2 separate regions of the Homo sapiens genome follow, and region 1 is linked to region 2. The links are contacts of gene promoters, found by promoter capture Hi-C in blood cells and fetal thymus (Javierre and others, 2016). All regions are on one chromosome and are shown on one strand. The core of a region is centred on a gene start or on the middle of the fragment in contact, and the rest is flanking DNA. Distances in the headings are between cores, read along the strand shown.

Region 1 (5,241 bases), core at 581-3,080, 810 kb after region 2:
TCACAGGAAGAGAGAATAATCTTGTTACTCAGGGTACCAGCAAGTTGAAAGAGATTGACAGCTTTCTGTGTCTGTCATTTAAACAAGTAAAAGGAGTATTACTTTATTGCTCATGATTTTGTGGAGCAAGATAGGTAGAGGCAAAGTTTCACTTCAGTGAATCAACGCAACAAGGTCAGTGGAATGTGATCAGGCAGTGAATCTTGTCACCACTATATAGGCTGGATACTGCATTGTGCTGCCACTGATAGGATAAACTGAGGGATGGGACATGACTGTCACACAGAGGGAAAATGTGCATATTTCAGATCAGTAGTATATGAGCTGGCAAAGATAAATCCTATTTGTCTTGCTAATATATTTGATTGTTATATAATATCTTCTTAATCTCTTTTGACAAATTTTACTTCTGAAAAAAAATTTTAAGAGACAGGGTCATGCTGGGTATTGCTTTTATCATTTTAAACTGCACTGGAGAAAACTAAAGCCTTATGCCCAGTTCCTGTATAGTAGAAGAGGAATATGTCAGAAAGGAAAGTCCATTAAACAGAGAAAAGAGGAGTTATGTACTCTATCTCCCTCCTCTTTCACATCTGAGTTATTCTCTTTAAAGTAACCCAGGGTCTTGCCCAGGCAGGTCTGAAACTCCTGGCCTCAAGTGATCTTCCTGCCTCAGCCTTTTAAAGTGTTGGGATTACAGGCGTGAAACACTGCACCTAGCCGAATTTTACATTTTTAGTTACAAGTAGTTTCTTACTGTTTCTTAATCTCTGAAGGGTACTCCGTGAAGCACAGGCAGAGAGATTGAAACAGTCTGCAGAAAGTAGTGACCTGAAGTGAGAAAAATATGCCCAGAATTGTGTGCCTGTGTGTTTATGTGTGCTTGTGTGTGTGGGCTGGGGTGAGCTGTAAAAAGACAAGCGGCTGCCCTTGGATGGGGGTACAGTCTTGAAGAAGCCGTGGAGCAAGATAAAGTTCTCATTTTTGTACATTAAATCTGTTACTTTTAAGCTAACTGGTACTCTGATGCTCTGATATTTTCTTCTATATCAACTGGAATCCAGTGTTAGAGTAAGACTAGCTTTGATCCAATAGCCACCATTAAAGAGATACATGTTAAACTTGTGCTGCAGGTACATGCCTGTAAAAGGAGAATGAGTCTTCAGGTAGTAGAGCATGTTCTGTGTAATTAAATCTTATTTTTTCCTTGTTAGAGTGCTTGTGCACAGAGCTCGAAAACTAGCTCAACAATACTATCTTGTGTACCAAGAACCCATTCCTACAGCTCAGCTGGTACAGAGAGTAGCTTCTGTGATGCAAGAATATACTCAGTCAGGGTAAGTTGCTTTTTTTACTTGAAATGTGCCATGAATTGTAGGGGGAAGTTATTTTAAAGAGTAGGTATATAAATAGAGTGGGACTTACCATTTCTGTATTTGCTTAACAAGTGGACAGAATCACTATGATGAATATTTCTGATCTTATCTGGCTCTGGAGTATTTATTTAAGGAAAAAAATGTGTTTTCTTGTTGCTTATGTAACAGCAGAAAGCAGCTTCTAGATATACAAAGTTCTTTTGCCAGTGATTAAAACACTTTATGGACAGACAATCATTGCAACTTTAAATTTTTCTTTTTTTTTTTTTTTTTTTTTTTTTTGAGTCAGAGTCTCACTCTGTCGCCCAGGCTGGAGTGCAATGGCATGATCCCGGCTCACTGCAACCTCTGCCTCCTGGGATCAAGCAATTATGCGTCAGCCTCCTGAGTAGCTGGCACCACAGGCGTGCATCACCATGCTTAGCTAATTTTTTTTTTTTTTTTGTATTTTTTTGGTAGAGATGTGGTTTCACTATGTTGGCCAGGCTGGTTTCAAACTCCTGACCTCAAGTGATCTGCCTGTCTTGGCCTCCCAAAGTGTTGGGACTGTGCCTGGCCGCTACTTTCAAATTTATCTTTCTAACCAGAAATGATGGTAAGCACATGATGAAAGCAGCTCTTGGACGTATTCATATTTCTTTTCATTCCCCAGTTTCTTAAGTTTGGGTGTAGATGAGATAGCATATAGGTAGTTGTTGATACGTAAACCTAGTGGAAAAGCTGCATTAACTGAAAGTTGTCATTTTGTAATAGGTAAACCTAGTGGAAAAGCTGCATTAACTGAAAATTGTCATTTTGTAATAGGTAAACCTAGTGGAAAAGCTGCAGTAATTGAAAGTTGTCATTTTGTAATAGGTAAACCTAGTGGAAAAGCTGCATTAACTGAAAGTTGTCATTTTGTAATAGGTAAACCTAGTGGAAAAGCTGCATTAATTGAAAGTTGTCATTTTATTAGGACACTAAATGTTACTACACACTTATTAACCCCAGTGTCTTAGGTAACACTGTTCAATTCAAATTTTTTTTTATTTGGCTACCATTCCTCACTACCATAAAGAGAATTAGTTTTGAATTGATTCATTCAGAAAGGTGTTAAATACTTTCTAAGGAACTTAAAAGTCTAATTCAGTTTGCCTGATAATTTGCTTTATTTGAGAGTACTGATAAATTCTTGAGGATGACTTTAACACCATGAAAATGCCAAGTAATTTTCATTTTCCTCCCTGCAGTGGTGTTCGTCCATTTGGAGTTTCTTTACTTATTTGTGGTTGGAATGAGGGACGACCATATTTATTTCAGTCAGATCCATCTGTAAGTATCATTTAATGTATTTGAGGGATTTGTTAAAAGTGCTCTTTGAATATCTAACAGAAATAGAAGCCATAAAAACTTTACAATTTAGCAGTATTTTCTTCTTTTCTCTTGGGCTTTAGAAAGTATGAGGTTGTGCATTTTTGTGTGTATATTTAAAATTTTGGTAATTTGGTCTTCTGATAAGGAAGCTGTATTAGTTCTACCCTCTTTTGCCATGTTCATTAACTTCATACACTTGGGTGATTTGTTGAAATAGTTATCAAATGTATTTAAACCTGTTACTTCGGGAAATACTGCAATTGAAGATGTGGATCTGGAGGACAGTGTTGTAGTGTTTGCCATCAGTTGAATCTTGGGGCTGACTTGAGTGAGTTTTCCAGCAAAAACATTAATTTATCTTGAATTCAGTGTTTTGCAAAAATGATTGTGTAATTGGTACCTTGGGTAAGTTGTCTGCTCTAATGCAGAAGAATGGTATCTGAATAGAAGGTGTTTGTAATGGATAATACTACTCCACATCTGTCCCATTTGCTATGAGAACCTTAAGACAAAATTCAAGATTAGGAAATGATCTTTCATGTTTTATGGATTATTAGATAATTACAGGTTCACTCAATGCAAACCTTATAATCTACTTTTATAACCTGAGATGGCAAAAGAAAAATATTTTGGTTGTTAATTAAATCAGAAAAATAAGTATTTTGGGAACTTTGATAGTGTTGTTACTCCATCTCTGAGCTTCCAAAGCTAAATGACAGGCCCTCTTATCTTCCTTTCCAGAAGGTAGCAGAAGCCACCATTTCTGGAATCCTGATTTTATCTTTTGTCCTATTTTCCTCTGTTGTGTCTAAAAAACAATTGTTTTCATTTAAAACATATTGGATTATGTTTCTTTTGGTATTTTTTTCTAATGAGATGCTCTCTTTTTAATTCACTAATGATCAAGAGTTGATCACCATTTTTCAGATTTATATGATAGATTTTTAAATCGCTTCAGTCTATTAAACTAAAATACTACTCTTGATTATTTGCTTTAAGTTAACCTCAATTTCTTTTAACTGGATTTTTTACATAATTTTACACTTAATTGCATCATCACCAGCTCATCAGTTTGATGAGTTCTGATATATGTAAATGCCTGAAGAAACCATTACTACAATGAGGATATCAAAAATTTCCAGAACCTCCAAAAGTTTCTTCATGCCTTTTTGGTTTCCATCCTTCTAGCCTTCTTAAAAAATAACCTATTCTGTGACGTTTTCCATTCTAATAATATTCTGTGACCTTCGAAGTTAGAGAACAATTAATAAAGCTAAAAATTAAATGGCAGGGCAATATAATTGTATTTGTGTTTTAAAATATGGTTTTTTACTCTTTCTTTCCTGATTAGGGAGCTTACTTTGCCTGGAAAGCTACAGCAATGGGAAAGAACTATGTGAATGGGAAGACTTTCCTTGAGAAAAGGTAGGCCTACTCATTGTAACTGCATTCTTTAGCAAACTCACTTTATGGTTTTTGGTGCTCTTTAAGTAAATTAATATCATGGGACTAAAGAAACTTGCTATATTACTCTGTATATGAATCTAGTTACAGATAAACCAAAAACTTCTCTCCCTTCTAGTTTCCTAGACTTCAGTATATTAAGTGGTAATTAATATTCATTTCCTAAGGAGTTCTCTTTCTACATTCTATGGTTTCCTAAATGCTTTTGGTTTTTTTACTTTTTACTTCACTTTTTGTGCCATTTCAGGAGGGAAAAAAAAGAACATTGAATCTGGAATAAAACATTTGGGGAGACAAATTTTTAAATGATTTAATGATAACAGTTTACGACAGTAAAAAAAATTGTGAAACCAAATGCCTGGAGTTGAAGGTATATTAAATATTTGATACATGTGCTTGATAAAAAGTGGAGCACTATGTAAAAATCTGTCGGTGCCCAAGTACAAGCTGCTCTTACTTATTTCCAGCTGTATTCTAGTCTCAGTGTTACTGTAGTCCTTCGGGACTCTCCAAGCTTTTGAAGAAGAAAATGTTTTATTTCTTGATATGTAATAGTTGCACATATTTTTGCAGTACATGTGATATTTTGATACCTGTATACAGTGTCAAATCAGGGTAATTGGATATCCATTACCTCAAACATCTGTCTTTTCTTTGTGTTGGGAACATAGCAGATCTTCTAGCTGTTCTGAAATATACAGTAAATTGTTAACGATAATTTCCTGACTGTACTACTGGACACCAGAACTTATTCCTCCTGTCTGACCGTATTTTTAGACCCCTTAACCAACTTCCTTCAGTTCTTCTTCCCTTCTCCCTTCCCAGCCTCTGGTAACCACTGTGCTACTCTCTCCCTCCATGAGATCCACTTTTTTAGCTCCCACATATGAGTGACAACATGCAATATTTATCTTTCTGTGCCTGGCTTATTTTGCTTAACGTAATGACCTCGAGTTCCATCCATGTTGCTGCAAATGACAGGATTTCATTTTTTTATGGCTGAATAATAATAAAAAACTTCGTAACTCCGTTTAACAGATGAGCCTTC
Region 2 (5,552 bases), core at 657-3,156:
GATGTTTCGACGTCAAGAGGACAGTATATCAGAAACTTTCTCCTGAGCATGAAATAGAGGTCCTTTCCTTCAGTCAGATTGCGCCAACCTGGGTCATATACTCGTTCCTTGATTAGCAACTATTTCCAAAAAAATTCTGTGTGAAGACTGGTTTAATCAGTATCATTTTGATTCTGGGAACAGGGCAGCTATCTGAATAAAATAAGGATTTTGGTACAAAGGAGTTAGAGGAAAATGAATATTGGATAGGTAACATTATTCACTATAGAGTTTTGTTTTTAATGTAAAATTTAGACGACAAAAAAATTCTGTGTGATGACTGGTTTAATCAGTATCATTTTGATTCTGGGAACAGGGCAGCTATCTGAATAAAATAAGGATTTTGGTACAAAGGAGTTAGAGGAAAATGAATATTGGATAGGTAACATTATTCACTATAGAGTTTTGTTTTTAATGTAAAATTTAGACGAAAACTTTAGCAGATTTAAGTCCAGTGATAGAAATGTTAAGTTCTGAGTTTTCAAGCAAATGGTCAGAAAAGCCTATTTAATGTTTTATTACTTACAAAGTAAACATATTTCTCTTTCTGGTACAGAACGGGAGCTAATTGATCTCGGGTTCATTTTCATGAACGTTGTATGAAATGCACATATACCAAACCTCATAAGCTTTTTATTAGTTGATTTATTCTTTGAAATATTAAGCTTGGTGTAAGGTATTATAACCTCAATCTCTTTGAAAATGTAATAAGTCAATAATCAATGTTGCATCAATGAATATTACTCAGTGGATGCCTATTTTATTTCTTCTTTTTCTCTAAGAACCATTTAAATAGTCCTTATGGCCGAGCACTTCACAATCTGATTAGTTTCTATTAATTCTTTGGAAAAGAAACATTCTGGGAAGTCAGAATTCAGCGGTAGGTTGCTTTGATAATGTGCTCATTTAGCTAGTGGATTCCAGAGTGATAGAATGTATGTTTGGCAACCTAATTGTTGTGGAGGAAGAAAAGAACTTCTGTTAGAAGTTTTTAAAAAAGTTTAAAAATTGTTTTTACCTCATCAAAAGTTTGATGTCTTGTGAGTTTTATAGCATGCATAATATATTAATGCCATACATGACACATGTAAATATATATATATTTTTTCTGATAGGGATGTGTGAGCAAGAGTTTAAAGAAGAATGCCCCAGTCTAAAGTTAATTAGTCTTGGAGTGATGGCTTCGCAGAGGAAAGATACTGGATTTCAAGCTTGACATTAAGGTGATAATAGTGGTGACTATGGAATAATCAATATAAAAATAATAACAGCTAACAGTTACTGAGCGCCTACAAACTGCCAGACACTACTCTAAGTGCTTCACATCCTCATAACAAATTTATGAGGTAAATGCTATTATTATCCACCAGCCTTCTGAAATTTTCTTACCCCGTTACTCCCTGGTGTTAACTGGGTACTTAATTTGTCGAATAAAATAAAATTTAGTGCTGCCAAATTTGTCAGCTGAACGGGGCGGCAGGAATTTCAGTGCTAGAGTGGGGGGCCAGACGGCCCGGGGCTTCGTGTCCTTGGAGGCCAGCGGAAGCGCCGCATACCTGTGAGGAGCAACGTGAGCCGGTGGCTTATATTTCCTGGGCTAGTGCTACTGGACTGAATGCATTTGCAATAACCGGACGCAGAAAAAAAAAAAAAAAGCGGGGACCAGGGGAGGCGAAACCCTTCCCGGCGCGAGTCCGAGCGTCTGAGAAGCAGAAGCCACACGTCCCGGCGACCTAAGTTCTGGATCAGCCGGCCGGAGGACCCGTGTTAGCATTTACAATCCGAGGTGAGCTGAAGCCTCCGGTTGTCCCGGTTCGACGCTCTAGCCCTGCGAGCAGCCGACGCCGGAAGTCTCTACTGCTCCCCGCTGGCGCGCAGGACCGCGGGCATTTACCCGTGCTTTCCCAAGCCTGGAAGAACTCGTCATGCTCTTTGTAGCGTGGTGCTTCTGTTGCTCACAGGTTAGTCTCCCGCGGTATAAGAGTCTCCGTCTTCCCCCCAGCAAGAAGCGTTTGTTCCTGCAATTCGGGGGGCCGCCTTTGCGCGCGGGGTGCGCTGCTTCTTGGAGAGTTCCCTCACGGGTCACATCGCGGAGGTTCGCGCCGGCGCCGGGTCGCGGCCTCCCTGCGCAGCTTCTTTGGCACCTGGTAACCTTCAGTGGCTCCGTCCGCTCGGAGTTAGGAGGCTGTGTCGAGCTAACCTTGACCTTGTCCTGCAGTTTTTGCTGACCATCCCCAACAGCACACTGTAAAGAGTTAGGGTCCTCTCGAAGAGTTGGGACTGGGCACTTTTGTTGGTAGTGCTAAATTTCAACACCCTGAGGAGTACGCTGCCCAAATTATTGTAGGAAAGAATTACCTGGTTTAGTGGTTATAATACTTTTTGTCCCCACCACACTTGAATAACAGAAAAACCCTCCCAACAGGGGCTGACTGCAAAAGTGATTTTCTGTGTAGGGGACATTGGATGTATTTATGTATATATCAGTGCCTATCAGTCTGTATGTGTGTTTGGGGGTGGATGCTGTGTAATTTAAAAAAATCTATGGAGATTCTGATAATTTGATAACCTGTTTCTCCGGTCTTCCCCTGATTCCTCCCCATTCTCCCCGGAGGGCTATTGCTTTATTTCTGAGGTGGCTCACGTTTGGATAGAAGTAGCAACTCTCCGCTTACACCTGCACGTTTAAAACGCATATCAGATTGTGTTATTTCTGTCCTCAGAATCTTCCTGGCCTTCCCGTTGCTTTCAGGATAATACACATTTCTTAGCCTAACTTCAAGGGCCTACAGGGTCTTGATTCTGCTGAGTTTTTCAGTCTTTGCTACTTTCATGGAAAACACACCTGCAGGTACACTCATATTATGCTCCCACCATGCCAGTCTACGGTAATTTAATAACTTTAGATATGGCAAAGTTTTATATGGTTTACTCAAGTTTTAATTTTTGTTCTAGCATTTAGCCAAAATCGATTGAATTCATAATATTGCTAGGCACTGTTTTAAAAACGGGATAAAATGAAAACAAAACAAAACACAAAACAAAAGTCTTCAGTCCTTTAAAAAAATAAAACAGCTTCCTGACACATAGTTCACCTACCGTAGAGTTCACCATTTAAAACGTAGCGGTGCCTCACGCCTGTAATCCCAGCACTTTGGGAGGCCGAGGCGGGTGGATCACGAGGTCAGGAGATCAAGACCGTCCTGGCTAACACGGTGAAACCCCGTCTCCACTAAAAATACAAAAAATTAGCCGGGCGTGGTGGCGGGAGCCTGTAGTCCCAGCTACTTGGGAGGCTGAGGCAGGAGGATGGTGTGAACCCGGGAGGTGGAGCTTGCAGTGAGCCGAGATTGCGCCACTGCACTCCAGCCTGGGCGAGAGAGCTAGACTCCATCTCAAAAAAAAAAAAAAAGAAAGAAAACCTAAAAGTAATTAGTACATTAGTACATTCACAAAGTTGTACAACCATCATCATAAAATATGCTGTAATCTTCTTCACCTTCATTAGTTGGTTTAATTTTCTATTTCAGACAGACTCCAATAAGTTATTCTTGTATTCTTTTGTTCATGTTTAATATGCTGCATTCAGTTTGTGAGAGCCATATTGGAACAATTGAACATTTTCATCACTCCAAAAGGAAACCCTGTACTTATTCAGCAGGCTCACCTGACTTCCCCATCCCCACTCCCCATTCTAAGCCCTAAGCAACTATGAATTGACTGACTGTATATTTGACTATTCTGGATTATTCATGTGAGTGAAATCATACAGCATGTGGTCTTTTTCAACTGGCTTCTTTTACTTAACATTCATGTTCATCTGTGTTGTATTTAATAGCATGTGTCAGTACTTTTTTTTATTGCTGGTTAATCTTTTATGGGTATTACCACGATTTATTTTCCATTAGTTAGTGGACGTTTGGATTGTTTCCACCTTTTGGCCATTATGTGTAATGCTGCTGTGAACATTCACCTACAAGTTTTTGTGTGGACATCATGTTTTCATTTCTCTTGCGTATGTGCCTAGGAGTGAAATGGCTGGGTCATATGGTAGCTCTGTTTAACATTTTAAGAAATGGTCAGACTGTTTTCCAAAGCATCAGTGTGCATCTTTTTAACATTCGCACCAGTAGTGTATTAGGGTTTTGATTTCTCACTCCTTGCCAACACTTGTCATTATCTGTCTTTCTGATTCTAGCCATTCCAGTGGGTGTGAAGTGTGTGTCATTGTGTTTTCATTCTTTTTCGTTGACATGTAATAATTGTACATATTTAGGGACTACAGAGTGATATTTTGATAAATGTATACAATGTGTAGTGATCAAATCAGGTAATTAGTATGTCCACCACCTGAAACGTTCATCTTTTCTTTGTGTTGCGACCATTAAAAATCTCCTAACTTTTTGAAAATATTATGGTTTCAAATCGTATTTCCCTGATGGCTAATGATGTTGAGCATCTTTTCAAGTGCTTATTGCCCATTTATTTATCTTCTTTGGAGAAATGTGTACTCAGATCCTCTGCCCATTTTTAAATTAGGTTCTTTTTTGTAATTGAGTTGCAAGAGTTCTTTATATATTCTAGATACAAGTCATTTATCAGATATGTGATAGTCTTTTAGATTATGCTACCGTTCTTTTAAATGAAAAGCACATGAGATTAATTTTTTGTAGCCCTGGAGACCTCCTTATGGGTATGTGGCTGTGGTTTAGAGAGTGATGGTTTTCCAACAACTACGTGGGAGGCCAGGCCCAGGAAAAATGCTGTGAAAGAACCCGTGAGGAGCATTTTAAGACTTGAAAAATGAAGCAAGGAAAAACTTTATAATTTGCCATTCCGTATGGAGTTTTGTCTTTATTGATTTTTAGGAGTTCTTTGTGTAGGGATTTAAGCCATTGACTGTTAGATATGTGGCAGATATTTTCAATCTATTTAGTTAACTTTGTTTTATATTTTTTACTATATTGTTTTACATTTTTGTGTAGTCAGGACTTTGCCTCTAAAAGCCTTCTGGCTAATAGTTTAGGATATTGTTCTTTAATTATAGGAGTTATAGAAACTGACATAGTAGTTCCCAGTTAGTGTGACATCTGAGTCCCTGGTGGTATATTTAGCCTAAGAGTGTTCATTGTTTCAGACATTGTTGCCTCCCTGTCTCTCTGCCTTGAAAAATGTGCCATGATCTGCTTCAACTTTGTTCATTTAACTCTCTATTTTAAACAGACTCCAAGAAGTTATTCTTTTATCCTCTTGTTCATGTTTCATATGCTGCATTAGATTTGTGAGAGCCATATTGGACAGTTGGTCACCAAATAGTAGGTACTTTTTTCATACTAGCAGGCATTTATTTGAAGATTATTTAATGTATGCAGAGGTTGAGTGTAGCTATTGTGTTCTGTATTGTTTGGGGCATGTTGGAAAAAGTAGTTTTATAAAATCCTATTAACATTGTTTTGTATTTTTTTAATTTTGTTGGTTAAAAGGCAGTAGTAGTAATATATATAGTATATATA

The links. The method cuts DNA at HindIII sites, captures the fragments that hold promoters and counts their contacts. A CHiCAGO score of 5 or more calls a contact.
Region 1: a fragment that was not itself captured here is called in contact with the fragment with the promoter of COA1 in region 2 in 15 of 17 cell types (naive CD4 T cells, naive CD8 T cells, naive B cells and 12 more); the score reaches 17.8 in naive CD4 T cells.

What each region holds. Positions count from the first base shown.
Region 1 is chr7:42,920,771-42,926,011 of GRCh38, reverse strand. PSMA2 (proteasome 20S subunit alpha 2) reads left to right here. Exons shown (of 8, transcript NM_002787.5): 4 at 1,215-1,337; 5 at 2,606-2,687; 6 at 4,081-4,154. Among named protein-coding and RNA genes, the nearest start is that of PSMA2, 8.8 kb to the left of the region's middle. The HindIII fragment of the contact is 5,758 bases long and covers 1-4,709 here.
Region 2 is chr7:43,725,877-43,731,428 of GRCh38, reverse strand. It overlaps COA1 (cytochrome c oxidase assembly factor 1), which reads left to right and starts at 1,906. Exons shown (of 6, transcript NM_018224.4): 1 at 1,906-2,000. RefSeq lists enhancers at 1,596-1,795, 1,162-1,890, 1,891-2,620. The HindIII fragment of the contact is 9,306 bases long and covers 1,253-5,552 here.